Linked DNA regions of Homo sapiens: region 1 is linked to region 2. The links are contacts of gene promoters, found by promoter capture Hi-C in blood cells and fetal thymus (Javierre and others, 2016). All regions are on one chromosome and are shown on one strand. The core of a region is centred on a gene start or on the middle of the fragment in contact, and the rest is flanking DNA. Distances in the headings are between cores, read along the strand shown.

Evidence for each region. Contacts are between HindIII fragments. The CHiCAGO score rates a contact against its expected background, and 5 or more counts as called.
Region 1: the fragment with the promoter of CDC42EP2 here is called in contact with a fragment that was not itself captured in region 2 in 1 of 17 cell types (megakaryocytes); the score reaches 5.1 in megakaryocytes.

The regions. Positions count from the first base shown.
Region 1 is chr11:65,312,802-65,316,509 of GRCh38, forward strand. CDC42EP2 (CDC42 effector protein 2) reads left to right here and starts at 2,065. Exons shown (of 2, transcript NM_006779.4): 1 at 2,065-2,153. LOC105369344 (a long non-coding RNA gene) reads right to left here and starts at 1,888. Exons shown (of 3, transcript XR_007062727.1): 1 at 970-1,888. RefSeq lists silencers at 1,723-2,102, 2,563-2,692, 2,863-3,022. The HindIII fragment of the contact is 12,136 bases long and covers 1-3,708 here.
Region 2 is chr11:65,100,651-65,104,018 of GRCh38, forward strand. All of the region lies in intron 2 of VPS51 (VPS51 subunit of GARP complex), which reads left to right. Among named protein-coding and RNA genes, the nearest start is that of VPS51, 6.1 kb to the left of the region's middle. RefSeq lists a silencer at 1,587-1,881. The HindIII fragment of the contact is 219 bases long and covers 1,671-1,889 here.

The DNA of each region.
Region 1 (3,708 bases), core at 815-3,314, 210 kb after region 2:
GTCGCCCAGGCTGGAGTGCAGTGGTGCGATCTCGGCTCACTACAAGCTCCGCCTCCCAGGTTCATGCCATTCTCCTGCCTCAGCCTCCTGAGTAGCTGGGACTACAGGCGCCCGAGTAGCTGGGACTGCAGGTGCCTGCCACCATGCTCGGCTAATTTTTTTTTTTTTTTGTATTTTTAGTAGAGACGGGATTTCACCATATTAGCCAGGATGGTCTCGATCTCCTGACCTCGTGATCCACCTGCCTTGACCTCCCAAAGTGCTGGGATTACAGGCATGAGCCACGGCGCCCAGCCCTCATTGGCAATTTTCATTTCCATTTCTCATGTAACAAAACATATTCATAGATTACACAGGTTCGGATGTGGGCTTTTTTTCTTTTCTTTTTTTTTTTTTACATGGGTTTTTGCTCTATTGCCCAGGCTGGAGTGCAGTGGCGTGATCACAGCTCACTGCAGCCTTAACCTCCCAGGTTCAAGCAATTCTCCTACCTAAGCCTCCAGAGTACCTGGGACTACAGGCTTGAGCCACCATGTCCGGCTAATTTATTTGTTGTAGAAACAGGGTCTCACTATGTTGCTCAGGCTGGTGTCAGTGTCAAACTCCTGGACCCAAGCAATCCTCCCACCTTGGCCTCCCAAAGTGCTGGGATTATAGGCATGAGCCACAGCACCTGGCTAGATGTGAACATATTTAGGGGGGCTGTTATTTTACCTACCATGATCCCCTTCTTCCCATCCGGACCTCCCAGCTTGTCTGGCATCTTCCCCCACCCCCAGCATCCTGCCTCCCCCACTGAGGTCTTCCCGGCTCTGCCTCCCTAAAAGCCCTTCCCACACTGACAGCATTGAAGCCAACCATCCTGGTCACACTGAGCTGGCATAGCTGTCATCCTCTAGAAAGTGAGGTCTGTCCACCCCGTCACTACCCACCACTTCCTCTGCCCCACTCTTCTTAGCACTTACCCACCTGGAAGGGTATCATGATGTACCTGGGAACTTGGATTTCCCCCATTTCCCTTCTCTGGGCTGCAGGTCCCAATCCAGAGGCTGAATCCCCAGGGACAAGAACAGCGCTAGGCACTTGGTAGATACTCAACAAATCTCTCTTGAGTCACTGAGAGGTGCAGTTTCCTTCAGTCTGTCTCCAGCACCCTGTGCGGTGCCTGCCCTTCAAAACATGTTTCTGGGCCGGGCGCGGTGGCTCACGCCTGTAATTGCAGCACTTCGGGAGGCCGAGGCGGGCAGATCACTTGAGGTCGGGAATTCGAGACCAGCCTGGCCAACATGGAGAAACTCCGTCTCTACTAAGAATACAAAAATTAGCCAGGTGTGCTGGCACATGCCTGTAATCCCAGCTACTCGGGAGGCTGAGGCAGGAGAATCTCTTGAACCCAGGAGACGGAGGTTGCGGTGAGCAGTCTGGGCAACAAGAGCGAAACTCTGTCTCAAAAAAAAAAAAAGTTTCTGGCCCTGTAGGAATGACTGACTGACTGACTGAAAGAATGAATGGACCAGGAACTAGTCTGAATATGAGCCCCACCTTCACTCTGGAAGCCTGACAGCAAAGACGGGGGTCCAGGCCACGCGGCCTCTGCCTTCCCATACTGTCTTTTCTAGTGGGAGGTAAACTGATCAACTAGCTTGTAAGTTTGTAGTATTCTAACGTAGGCGCTTCCAAGGAAGTCGCTGAATATACTTGTGCCGGCGCTTCCCCGACGCAGCCCTGCAGGGAAGGATCCGGTCCAAGGTCTCTCTGCGATTTCTGAAGAATTCGGTCTTCCCGGAGCCTCTCCCCCGGCTCTTCTAGAACCGAAGGTTTTAGTTCCCATGGGCACAGCCGGAGGCCGCCTGCGCCACCCGGCCCTCAGCCGCCAGAACCAGGACAGGACTCCAGGGCGCGCGCGACCGCTGGACCCGGGAGCGGCACCTCCCACGCCGGGAGCCCCGGGCGGTGCCCGGAGTGGGGCGGGGCCTGGGCGGGGATGGGGAGGGGCTTGGCTGGCGCGGCCCCGGCATTGGCTCCGCGGGCCGGGGCGGGGCTGCGGGGTCCGCGGTGCACTCTGTAAGTTCACCGCCGGTCGGGTCCGGCCGCCGCGCTGTCCAGCTCCTGAGACCTTGCTGTCCGCCGGTCTGCCGTCTGCGCGCCTCACGGTGAGTTCGGGCTGGGATTTTCGCAGCTTCGCGGGGGTCCCCCGAGAGGCCCATCTCTGTGGCGCCCCGCCCCAGCTCGCGCCCTGGCTCTGCCTCTCACCTCACTCAGTTCCTTTCGAGGGCTCCTAGGGCTCCATGGGGCTTCCCACCCGCATCTGGGTTCCCGCAGCCTCGCCCGTGCCCGCCACGGTCCGTGGGGGCGCAACGCATCCCGACCCCGAATTCCCCGTTCTGCCCTCCATTTTGTGTCCGGGCCCCCGCCCCCCTCCCGAGACCCAGGGGTGCCCCGCCGCCCAGCATCCCCACCGGGGCTGGGGGCCGTATTTTTAGCCGATAGTGAGTTGTTCTCCTATCTTTAGCTGCGGCCGCGAATGTCCTGAAACGGATCCGGGCTGGGCTGGGCTCCGCCCGGGTAGGAGTGGGGAGGGGTCGGCGCAGGAACCCGAGCCGGAGCTAAGGAGCCGGACCCGTGGGAGGGGCGGGGGCCCGCACGCCCGAGCTCTGGCCCTGTGCCGAGCGGACACTAGGACATCGCCCAGGCCGGAAAGCACAGGGGGGAGGCTCCTCCCAGAGCTTGGAGACTAGGGCAGGGTCCCCAATCGCCCCCTTTTTCCCCGATTGTGGGACCAGAAACCCCGAAGCAAAAAGATCTCGCAGGTAATCCCCATCTGGTACTTGAACGCGCAGCTCCTTGGGGACCGCCTGCCTGGAGCCCGGGGGAGGGGCGCTGGAGACCCCGGTGCGCTCTCGGAGTCCTCCGGGACACGAGGCGATCAAGGGAGCACGCGCGCCACCTGGCGGCCGCGGAGCCGGGCACCTCTCCGGAGGCACCGGGACCCCGGGAGACCCAGCGGCCGCTAGAGGGTCTCTGCATCCTCGAGGTCTAGGAGGGCGGGAGGAGGTGGACGCCTGGGGTCAGGAGCCCTTCGTTTTTGCTATTGTTCAAAGCACTGGCCCCGGAGAATCGAAGTGCTTGAGGAAGGAAGGCCTTGTAGATATTTGCTGAATGAATGATAAAACCTACAGTGACCCGCTGAACCCCGCTATTGTACATTGGCGCTCTCACCTGCAATATTGCAGTGGGATCTCCAGTGGCCCTTTAGTGGTGGCTTCGTTGTCAGCCCATTTTATAGATGGGAAAGGTGAGACCCAGAGAGGAGAGGCGTCTTGCTGAAGGTTACTGAGGAAGTCCCAGGTGGAGCTGGATTTAAGGACAGTCTCCTGATTTAGGAGAAGAGGGGGTGTGAGGTGGCCTAATATTCTTCATGATAGGAGGATCCCTGCCTGCCGGAAGTCATTTTCTCATTGGGAGGTCCAGGGCTCCTGTCCAGGGCAATCACAGAGAGCTAGGATGCTCCTATCTGCTCCCCGACTGCTGCAGGGAGCTCCCCTCCCAGCTCCCCACAGCCCTGTCCTGATGGAGACCTCATTCTCATATCTCTGGACACATGAAAGTTGGGCAGACGGGGGCAGCCAAAGGTCAGGATGTAGATGGAGGAGATCTGGGGACCCACTGTTCCCAGCCTAGCTGTGAGCCCCTTTCTCTCCCGCTCCC
Region 2 (3,368 bases), core at 530-3,029:
CTCCTGAGTAGCTGGGATTATAGGTGTGCACCATCACACCCGCCTAATTTTTTTATTTTTATTTTTTGTATATTTACTAGAGACGGGATTCCACCTTGTTGGCCAGGCTGGTCTTGAACTCCTGACCTCAAGTGATCCGCTTGCCTCGGCTTCCCAAAGTACTGGGATTACAGGCAAGAGCCACCATGCCTGGCCAATAGCAGCACTTTTTATAATAGCCACAAGGTGGAAGCAATCCAAATGGCCATCAATTGAATGAATATAAACAAATATCCACACAGTGGAATATTATTCAGCCATAAAAATAGATATAACATACTGACACAGGCTACAACATAGATTAACCTTGGAAACATGCTAATGTTTCATATGCCTATGATTCCATTTCTGTTAAATGTATTCTGTAGCGAATAGACAAATCCATAGAGACAGAAACTAGATTAATGGTTGCCAAGTTCTAGGAGTGGGGGAATAAGGAATGACTGCCAAGGGTTACAGGGTTTCTTTAGGGGATGATGAAATGTTCTGGAATTACGTAGTGAGGTTGGTTGTACAACCTTGTGAATATATTAAACATATTAAAAACCACTGAATTGGTATGTCAATTATATCCCAATTAAAAAGAAAACCAGGCATTGAGCCAGATTTGGCCTGCAGGCTGTAGTTTGCCAACCTCTCACCTAGACATTGAGTTTCATTATGTAATAATGCATTTACTTGTGTCAAAATTAGAAAGATCTCAAACATTATACAGGGAAAAGCCTCTCCTAATTCTTTTCTCTAGGCAAAGACAAAGCAGTCTTTGACAGTACATTTCACTGAAAATTAACAGAGCCCAGGTGGGATTATGGCTCATACCTATAATCCCAACACTTTGTGAGGCAGAGGCAGGCAGATTGCTTGAGCTCAGGAGTTCGAGACCATCCTGGCCAACAGGTTATACCTGTCTCTACAAAAAATACAAAAATTAGCTGGGTGTGGTGTTGTGTCCCTGTAGTCCGAGCTGCTCAGGAAGCTGAGGTGGAAGGCTTGTACCTGGGAGGCAGAGGTTGCAGTAAGCCAAGATTGTGTCACTGCACTCCAGCCTGGGTGACAGAGCCAGACCTTGTCTCAAAAAAAAAAAAAAAAAAAAAAAAAAAAAGAAAATTAACAGACATACAGAAAAGTGCACATAAGTGGACAGCTCCATGGATTTCACAAAGGGAGCACAGTCACATAATCAGCATCCAGGTCGGGAAACAGCATAACCAGCAAAGCCCCCTGAGCCTCCTACCAGTTACCACCCAGTCCCCTCCCAAGGTAGCCAACATCCTCGCATCCAGATGGCTTTCACTCTCCCTGGTTACAAACTGCTTTTCTTAACAAGCTTTTTTTTTTTTTTTTTTTTGAGACAGAGTCTTGCTCTGTCATCCAGGCTAGAGTGCAGTGGCCCAATCGGCTCACTGCAACCTCCGCCTCCGGGGTTCAAGTGATTCTCCTGTCTTAGGCTTCCAAGTACCTGGGATTACAGGCACCTGCCACCACACTTGGCTAATTATTGTATTTTCAGTAGAGACGGGATTTCACCATGTTGGTCAGGCAGGTGACCTCAGGTGATCCACCTGCCTTGGCCTCCCAAAGTGCTGGGGTTACAGGCGTGAGCCACTGTGCCCAGCCTGCTTTTCTTAACAAGCTTGAAATGCAAAGATAAACAGTGTAGTCTTTGTGACTGAATGGTGTGGATGCTTTCACTGTTGTTTTTGGATATGGTACAACTTTTATCTCCAGTGTAATGGCTCCATGGCTGGGAAGGCAGCGACAATGACAGCACACAGCACTGTTGGGTTTTCTTTTACTCTATTTTCCTAACAACTTAGTGTTTGGATTTTACCCTTTAGAAGTTGGATTCAAGCTTCCTTCTTGAGGTAGCCCCTAAGTGTCATGGGCTCAAACACCCACTACCAAAAGAGTCTGCTCTTTTCATGGTAGCTTTTGGCAGACCTGGAAGGAGATTGTGTCACATGGCCTGTAAACAAAACCAGTAATTCACTGGGTGAAGACCAAATGCCTCATCAACTGCCAAGCCTCTGTCTGTCTCCCTTAGATCAGTAGCCCATGATCCCTTTACGAACCTCAGCCTCGGCTCTGCTTTTATTGTTTTTCACTGCATAGCGCTGCCTTTGCTATGTCCTTTAGTTCACCATCTATGAATTGGCAAGAAAAATTTTCTTGCCAGGCACAGTGGCTCACTCCTGTGCTCCCAGCACTTTGGGAGGCTGAAGTGGGAGCATTGCTTGAGCCCAGAAGTTTGAGACCAGCCTGGGCAACATAGAGAGACCCCATCTCTACACAAAATTTAAACAAAAATTAAAAAATTAGCCGGGTGTGATGGCGCTTGTGTGTAGTCCCAGCTACTTCAGAAGCTAAGGTAGGAGGATCACTTGAGCCCCAGAGTTCAAGGCTGCAGTAAGCTGTGTTTGCACCACTGCATGCCATCTTGGCTCACTGTAACCTCCGCCTCCCCAGTTAAGGTGATTCTCCTGCCTTAGCCTCCTGAGTAGCTGGGATTATAAGTGTGCATCACCATGCCTGTAGACAGAGCAAGACCCTATCTCAAGCAAAGAAACTCAAAATAATTATGATTTCCCCAACAAAATGCAGGCAATGGTCCCTATGGTCCCAAAAGTAATATAGATGTTTCACATCATGTGATTTTATTCCTTAGTAACCTTCCTTTCTATGAAATCATCTCTAAGAGGGCTAAATGATCCTTTCTTGTGGACTGTGTTGTTAAAATGAAAAGTCCATTTTGCTGATACGTAATCTACCTTTCCATGTAATTTTTTAAAAAATCCCTTAATAGCTCTACAGATGTGAGCCCTGTAGATTCTTTGTCTCAGACAGTTCTTTCTCTTATATTTTCTCTAATATTTTTTTCCTGCATTTTTTGTTTCTGTTTGTTTCTTGTCAAATTGACATCAATGCTTTTCTCCTTACTCACCCTTCCAGCTGTCTCCCCAAGTGGGGTAGATTCCCAGTGTTGCTTGGAGAACATTCCTACAGTCCCAGAGCCACACACAGACCAGGTGTGGGTGTGTGAAGGCTCACAAGTGATTGCAGTTAGATATTTCCAGATTCTTCTTTGTAAATGCTGATCAGTTTGCATAACCACCAGCAAAGAAGAGAATACCTCTTTCAATCTTTGACAATCTGAGAAGTGAAAAGTGGTATCTCTTATTGTTTATAGTAACGTTTACAGGGTGTTTTTTTTTGTTTTTTTTTTTTAGGGCTTTCTATTTATTCAATTATTATTATTTGAGACAGAGTGTTGCTCTATTACTCAGGTTAGAGTGCAGTGGCACAATCTCAGCTCACTACAACTTGTGCCT